Regions from separate parts of the Homo sapiens genome. Here regions 1 and 2 are each linked to region 3. Evidence: promoter capture Hi-C in human tissues and cell types (Jung and others, 2019). All regions are on one chromosome and are shown on one strand. The core of a region is centred on a gene start or on the middle of the fragment in contact, and the rest is flanking DNA. Distances in the headings are between cores, read along the strand shown.

Region 1 (2,700 bases), core at 83-2,582, 35 kb after region 3:
CATTAAACTCAAATGTCAAATGAGGCAACTAAGACTGGAGAGAACAGAATTGTCCAATGTCACACAACTAGTTACTGAGAAAGCTAAAATTAGACCATCTTCTGATTCCCACGCCATGGCGTTTTCCATGATACAATGGAGAAAGGAGAAAATTCCACTATTTGACAGTTGCCTATTCTACCCACTATGACATGGAAGCAAAAATGATGAATGAGCGAGAAACAGAAGAGAACATCTAACTGAGCTCTGTATTTTATCTAAGTCTAGGACTTGATATAATTCCCCTTTTCTTTCTTTGGGGTTGCTTGAGCAAAGCTGACATAAATAGCTCTCTATGTTCTTCTAATACTGGAGGGCACCACACAGAGCAATAAGCGTATGCACCATCAGAAACAGTATGCAAATTTGAATGTGAAGAAAACTCATTTGATTCTCCATCTGTCTCCCTGTTTAATTACTTAGCCATAAATTAGCACTTTTTACTAACTACATTCAGCAAATATGATCAATTCGCTGACTTTAATGTCAAATAAGGAATACTTTTGACTTTCAAGTATTTAGCCTTTTAATTTACATTCACATTTTGAAATACAAATTAACTGTTGAAATCTACCCAAATACAATGTTGGAGGACTTTTTTTTCTCTCTTCTCATTAATGACATTTCTTTGATTGAATCATTGATGGGATGCTTTTTTTGAAACTTGGTTTTTCCCCCTAAAGGGCAAGAAAAGAAAGCACTTTCAACATTTAAAGGAAATAATTAGGAAACATATCATGAATAGTGTGAACTCGGGGCCTTAAAGACACAGCGCCTGTAAGCCTGCTCACATTTGCTTATAGCCTAAGGCCACATCCTGCCATCTCTACTTCACCAGGCACCAAGCCACCATCCAGGCCCAAATGGAAAAATAGATAGGACGAGACAATTTCTGGTTATTCTATATTCTTAGAATAGCAGGGATGAGAACAGGCCCTCAGAGGTAGAAACTGCTTAAGAAAATAGATAATAAAATAACCATATAAGTGTATATACCTAAGCAGTACACTGATATCTTGCTGCTCCTTATTCCTTGCCAACAAAATTCCAATTTTATTTAGGAAGGTAATGTGCTCAGCTTCAGGCAATGGATCAGGATTGGTTAAAGCCAATCATGACAATCCTATTCCCTAAGGTTCCAGTTCCTTTTCACCTACAGAGAGCCATGGGATACAATTCTAATTAACAAAAGATAATGGAAAGTCTTCTAGGGCTTCCTGGAAAGCTTCTGTCTTCTCAATATAAGCTCTGGGGTGCTTCTCCCACCCTTTCCTGTTATGAATGTAGATGTGATATTTGGCGTGGTGAAGCCATCTTGAGATCGTGAGAGAAAGACAAAAAGTACTGCAAGGATGCCAGCCCTGAGATCTTTGAGTGCCTGAACTAATGCCAAGAGCCACCTACCTTTGGACTTCTCGTTGTGTGAAAAAATAAATCTTCTGTTACATGCAACTGAATGCATTCCTAGCCTATATATATATATAGCCTATATATACATATATATGTATATATAGGCTATATATATATACACACACACACATATATATATGTGTGTATATATATGAGCTGCAAAATATATTTAACTACAAAAGTGATAAAGTACATTAACAAAAGGGGAAAACTTACTGGAAATCTAAGAGCTAGTTCAGTGTCTGCTTTCCAACTGAGCCTCTAAACACCCAGCTGGTCCAATTTCAGTTCCTCAATTGGATGCTGATTCATCAACCCACTAAGACAGTGGGTTCTAAAGTGTGGTCTCCAGGCTGGAACAAATGCAAGAGAGATGTGTTGGTATTTTGAATGTTGTGTTCAGCCAGCTCTGGGAGAAAAGATAGGCAATGAACATTCTGACTGATTTCCCTGCTCCAACCTCACCATGTACAGAGTGTTGAGAAGTTATTAAGCCTCCTGGCTAAGGAGATTCAAGGTTAGCACCTCTGGAACCAGGTAAGAAGCCTTCCCAATAATTCTAATAGTCCAGGAAAAAAAAAAAAAAACAGAGTTGTACCCAAAGTGATCTACAGATTCCAAGCAGTCCCTGTCAAAATTGCAACAAACTGTTTTGCAAAAATAGAAAAACTGATCCTCACATTTATATGGAATTCCAAGGGGGCTCTGGATAGCTAAAATAATCTTGAAAAAAAAAAGAACAAAATCAGAGGGCTCAAGTCCCAATTTCAAAACTTACTTCTAAAACAAAAGTAATCAAAGCAATGTGGTACTGGCATAAGGGTAGACATATAGACCAATGGAAAAGAATTAAGAGTCCAAAAATAAATCCATGCATATATGGCCAATTGATTTTTGACAAGGATGCCAAGACCATTCAATAGGAAAATAACAGTCTCTTCAACAGATGGTGCTGGGACAACTGAATTTTCACATGTAAAAGAATGAATTGAAGTTGGACCCTTATCTTACACCATATAAAAAAGCTAACTCAAAATAGATCAATGACCTAAATATAACAGCTAAAACAATAAAACTCCTCAAAGGAAATATAAAGGTACATTTCTGAGCCCTTGAATTTGGCAATGGCATCTTAGATATGGCACCAGAAACACAAGCCACAAAAGAAAATATAAATAAACTAGACTTGATCAAAATTTGAAACTTTTGTTCATCAAAGAACATTATCAAGAAAGTGAAAAGACAGCCAAC
Region 2 (2,700 bases), core at 103-2,602, 37 kb before region 3:
CCCGTGGCTCCCAAAGGAAAGAATCCACGTCATGAGGATGCCTGCGCCACTCCCATCAGGCAGCCCACGGCTCCCTCGGCTTGACCCGCCTCCTCGTTGTTCCTCAGCAGCAGAAACAGGGGTGTTCCCTCCTGGGGATCTTGGCCACATAGCACTCCCTCAACCTCTAAGATCCTGACGAAATGTCAGCTCTCAGAGAAGCTTCCCTGACTCACCCACTTATAACCACATCATCTGGAGCTCACAACCCCTGTGCCCCGAGGCTATTTGTTCCATAGCACTTATCACCTCTGAAGTCCCACAGAACTGAGTGAGCATGGAATCTGCCTGACGCTTAGAAGCCCCAGAAGGGAAGAGATGGTCCCTCACTGACATGCTTACCACATCCAGAACAGCCCCCGCACACAGGCGGCGCTCAATGAGTATTTCTTGAATGAATGAATCCACGTGCAGTTGGAAGAAGAAGAATCTATTAACTATTTCAGAATCTGTTATGGGCTAAGTCGTGTCCTCCCCCAAAATTCCAGCCCCAATGTGATTGTACAGTTGACCTTCCATGGGTTCCAACCTCAGATCAGAAATGTTGGGGAAAATAATTCACAAAGTTCCAATAGGCAAAACTTGAATTTGCCGCATGCCAAGTGCTAAGTTGAATCCACGTGAATGAAGTGATGTGTAGGCATTGCATTAGGTATTCTAAGTAAGGTGGGGATGATTTAAAATATACAGGAGGATATGTATAGGATATATGCAAATATGACACTATTTGTTATCAAGAACTTGAGCATCCTTGGACTCTGGTATCAGAAGGAGATCCTGCCCAGCACTTTGGGAGGCAGAGGCAGGCAGATCACCTGAGGTTGGGAGTTCGAGACCAGCCTGGCTAACATGGCAAAACCCCGTTTCTATTAAAAATACAAAAATTAGTCAGGCGTGGTGGCGCATGCCTGTAATCCCAGCTACTTGGGAGGCTGAGGCACAACAATCACTTGAACCTGGGAGGCAGAGGTTGCGGTGAGCCGAGATCGCGCCATTGTACTCCAGCCTGAGTGATGGAGTGAGACTCAGTCTCAAAAAAAAAAAAAAAAGGATATCCTGAAACCAATCCCTGCAGATACAGAAAGATGGCTGTATTTGGAAACAGGGCCTTTAAACAGGGAAATAAGGTTAAATGAGGACATGAGGGTGATGCCCTAATCCAACAGGACTGGTGTCTTGATACGAAGAGAGAGACACCAGGGATGAGAATACAGAGGATGTCTGTGCGAAGACACAGTGGGAGGGCAGCCTTCAGTCAGCCAAGGAGAGGAGGCCTCAGGAGAAACCAAACCTACTGACCCCTTGATCTCAGGTTTCCAGCCTGCAGAACTCAGACAACATCAATGTCTGTTGTTGAAGGCCCCCCAGGTCTGTGTTATTTACTGTACTAGCCCCAGCAAACCAAAGCAGAACCTTTATGAAACCTTTATGATGGTTATTAGTAATAACAGAATGGCTTGCTTTGTAAATCTCATCATAAAAATTCAAACCTGGTTGACAGCACTGGAGGAAATGATTTGGGCAGGGTGGGCAAAGGGAAAGCCCCCAGAGCAATGAAGGAAATGACAAGGGCCTGAGGGCTCCCGGCTCCCGGCTCCAGCCCAAGCCTGAATTCCGCATAAAAGGGCTGAAAACTGTGGTGATTAGCATGACCCAGTGGGGAGTTTTGAAAATAAATTGGTTTCACGCCATCTTCCAAAGAAACGATGTGGGTAAATGCATCCGAGTGGAACGTGCTCCTGTGTGGACAATACTTATTTAACAGAAAGCAGAAAATAGCCTTTGCTGGCTTTATAATTAATTTCAGTGTTGCTCCGATTTGCAGAGAAACGATGCTAGACAGCAAACACACACATCCCTGTCTTTTACAGGGGCCCATTAATTGCTGCTATTTATGTAGCAGGGCTCAACTGCCTCTGACCCCTGGCTCCCCACTGGCCACCCTCCTGCTGCTGAGCTAAAATTCGCCTTTTTGTTGAGGGAAAAAGTTTCCTTCCCCAGTTTAAACAACAAAGCTCATTAGGACTGATCTTGGCGATGCTAACAGAACCAGGTGCTGGGCAAAGGCAAAAAGCAAGACTAAGGAAAAAACAATGGCAGCTCCCAACGCAGGGCTGGGAAACCCTCCCACGCCCACCCAGGGGAGTTCTCAAGCCACTTTCCCGGGGATCCTCTGCGCCTGGGCTCCAGCCCCAATTCAGTAAGCAGATCACCCTGGAAACGTATCCTGCTGGTGAGAGACTAGAAACTGGTTCCTGCAAGAGAGGAATGCAAAACGGAGAATATTGAGATAGCAAGGTAGAATTGCTGGGCTGTACAGACAACGGTGGGGCTTGTGCAATTGCTGGAATTCTTATCAGAAGGCTGCTACTTAGTTAAAATATGTGTTCTTCCTTTGTCCAAGATGCATTTATTATCCACAAGGATAAAATTAACCCTCAGTCCCTCCGGAGTGCTGCCCACTTACAGTGCACAAAACTCGGGAATCTTAAGGGGAGATGAGTATTGTTAAAACAGGTAATGCTAGCATCCTGTCTCTTTGGTTTGGAAAAGTGTCAAAAGGGCCCAGTTTACAAGTTTTTTGAGACCGTGTGTGATTCATCTTGGTATGCCCCAAAATATTTAACTCCTGAAACACAACTGATAAATATATTGGCAAAA
Region 3 (2,700 bases), core at 126-2,625:
GGGGATCAGACTCTAAGCTCCCCCCAGAGGCTGGCTGTTAGCTTTCCTGCCCCCCCCGCCCCCCGACATAAGAGCCCACCTCCTCTAGCCCTGGTTCCCGCCTCGCCACGGATCCGCCGCCCCTGCCGGCCTGAAGGGCAGAGGGGCCCCATCCCGCCCCCCGCGCTAGTGTCGCCAGGCGGCGCCCTTCCACGAGCAGAACGGCCGCGCGGGACGCTTCCCGGGGCAAGGCCGTCCCCTCCCAAGCCCCCAACCCCCGGGCAGCGGACCGCAGGCCGCCTTCGGGAAAGGCTGCGAGATGCTGAGCGCGCGTTTTAACCCAACAGGAAAGCCGGGCGGAGGGGGAAGGCGCTTGGCCCGGGACTGCACACTGGGACTCCCAGTGCAGTGCTCCCCGCGGGGTCCTGGCCGCCGACTCCCGCCCCTGTGCCCCAGCCCCACGGCGCCCGGGAGACTCACCTTCTCCCCGGTCAGCACGTGCAGCCCCTCGCGCACCTTGGCAAAGGAGCCCTCGCCCAGCTTCCTGCTGCCGATGAGGTAGTTGCCCACGCGCTTGTGGTGCTGGAAGTCGCGGAGCCGCTCGCGGGGCACGCCGCTCACCCAGGCAGGCAGGAAACTTCCCTCGCAGGCCGCCGCGGGCCTGGCCGCGTCCTCCGCGCCGCCGCCGCCCCCAGGCGCCGCCGGCTCCCCCAGGAGCCCGTCCCCCGCCGCCGCCGGCATCGCGCTCGCCGCGGCCCGCGCGGCTCCTGCTCGTCTCCCGCGCTCGCAGCTCCTCCTCCCCAGGCTCTTCGGCTTCCCCGGCTTCTCCCGCCGCCGCCCTGGGCCCAGCCCCGCCTGGGTCTCCGCACCCAGAGCCCGGGGCCGCCGCGATCACGCCCCCCGCGCCGCCCAGCGAGGCGCGTAGACAATAGCGGCTGCCCAGGGGACGCGGGACCGGGGACCCCGCCCCCAAAAGTTCTTCCTCTTAGGGTCGCCCGGGCCCCTTTCAGGACACCAGGATCCCGCCCCGGGTCCCGTCCAGGAAGCTAATGACAGTCGCCCTGCTCGGGCGCGCGGGGTGGGGCGCGGTCCGGCGGCGCCTGGGTCCCGGGGTCCGGGTGCCTGGGTCCGGGAGCCCGGGTGCCTCCGCAGCCTCCGCCTCGCCGCCGCCGTCTGGCCCGCACGGGCTTGGGTCGGGCTCCCGCGATCGCTCCTAGCCGTGCGCTGGGCGGCCGCTCCCGCCGGAGAGAAGCGCGCGGCGGGCTGCCGGCGCCCTCTGGAAGGCAGCAGAAGAAAGCCCCATTCAGTTTGAATTTGCAGAAATTTAATCCGCTCGCGGGCGGCGGGAACAGATGCGAGCTCCACTCCGCAGCCCGTGCACTTTCAAATCCCTAGTAGCCCCTCCTTCCCCGCGCGCCACAGTCAAACTCGACCCTCGCTGGAGAGGGGAGGGCCCGGGGAGGGGAGCGGCGGAGTGGACGGAGAAGCCACCTGAGCGCCAGACAGGGAGAACCTGCGCGGCCTCGGAGGCGCGCGCTCCCGGGCCGCCCAGGTCGGGCCGCCTCCGGCTGCGCCTCTTGCCCGGATTCTGGGCTTGGGTTTTCTGGACCTTTCGGCGGTGAAATCCCCCACTGGCCGCACCCACCCGGGGCGGGGGGAAGGGGGAAGGCTCTCGAACTCCGTGGACTGTGAGTCGGGTTGCGTGCCCGGCCCTGAGTCCGCCACACAGTAGGGCCCCCTGGACCGGGGGTGGAAGGATAGATGGATGGCTGGAAGAAAGGGTGGGGAGGCGGCCAGGCGTCTGCCCGGGCTCGCACGCAGCCTGGTTGGCTGTGTTGGAGGAGGCGCAGCCACAGCAGTAATAGTAGCAGCAGCAATGTAGGAACCAGGGCGTTTGCTGCCTCTGCTTGTAGCTTACACCTTCTTTGCCTTCCATTGAAATGATGCCTGTGATTGCAGGAGGTGGACCGGCGCTCGCCTCTCTTCGATGCTTTTGTTCTGCAAGCGCTGTGACTGTGCTCATCGCATAAACAATTGCAACTGCCCTGACGACACTGGACCCTCTCCCAGGATCCCCAACGTCTTCTCAAACCGAAAATGAAGAATCTTGTGAGGGAGAAGGAGGAGGGTAGGTAGGAGGAGGCATTTACAAAATGCTACCTGTTGAGGTGCCCGCATTTGATGGAAACTTCACCCCGATCATGCAACATCAGAGCTGAAAGGAAGGATTTGGTCCTAACAAAGTTCCTTTCATTGTTTATTCCTGAGTAAACAAGTATGACATCGACCCATAGCAATGCTTTGAGATTGGGAGTGGGGGGTGGGGGAACAACAGCTGTCATCAATCCAGTGTCTGGGGGTCTCGCTGACCCATCTGAAGAGGGACGCAGAGAAATGCCTGCTTTCAATACATCTAATTTTAAATACGCTACTATATTCATCCACCTACCTGTTACAAGTCACCAGCCTCAGTTATTATGACGGAACATACTGCGTTTTCTGTTGTTCTGTCTCATTGTTCCCGTTTACCAATATTAAAGATACAGCTTAAAATGTTTTTCTTGCTGTGCTGAAGGGACTTCTTTGCTCCCACCGGCCTTGACTATTTCAGTAACGTTCATTCAATCCTTTTAATGTCTCTAATTCAGTAATCAAATCTTAACAGGACAGTTGCATGGGAGGGGAATGGTAACTAGCGTGGTGCCAGCAGAATAGATGTCC

What was found. Contacts are between HindIII fragments. The study calls those that stand out against the background at their distance.
Region 1: a fragment that was not itself captured here is called in contact with the fragment with the promoter of HUNK in region 3 in 2 of the 25 tissues and cell types used here (hippocampus and spleen).
Region 2: a contact is called between a fragment that was not itself captured here and the fragment with the promoter of HUNK in region 3, in 1 of the 25 tissues and cell types used here (thymus).

The regions. Positions count from the first base shown.
Region 1 is chr21:31,836,876-31,839,575 of GRCh38, reverse strand. No RefSeq gene overlaps it. Among named protein-coding and RNA genes, the nearest start is that of HUNK, 35 kb to the left of the region's middle. The HindIII fragment of the contact is 4,333 bases long and covers 1-2,700 here.
Region 2 is chr21:31,908,879-31,911,578 of GRCh38, reverse strand. All of the region lies in intron 1 of HUNK (hormonally up-regulated Neu-associated kinase), which reads right to left. Among named protein-coding and RNA genes, the nearest start is that of HUNK, 37 kb to the right of the region's middle. The HindIII fragment of the contact is 6,276 bases long and covers 1-2,700 here.
Region 3 is chr21:31,871,695-31,874,394 of GRCh38, reverse strand. HUNK (hormonally up-regulated Neu-associated kinase) reads right to left here and starts at 1,375. Exons shown (of 11, transcript NM_014586.2): 1 at 460-1,375. The coding sequence starts at 720. RefSeq lists silencers at 102-281, 1,208-1,257. The HindIII fragment of the contact is 17,092 bases long and covers 1-2,700 here.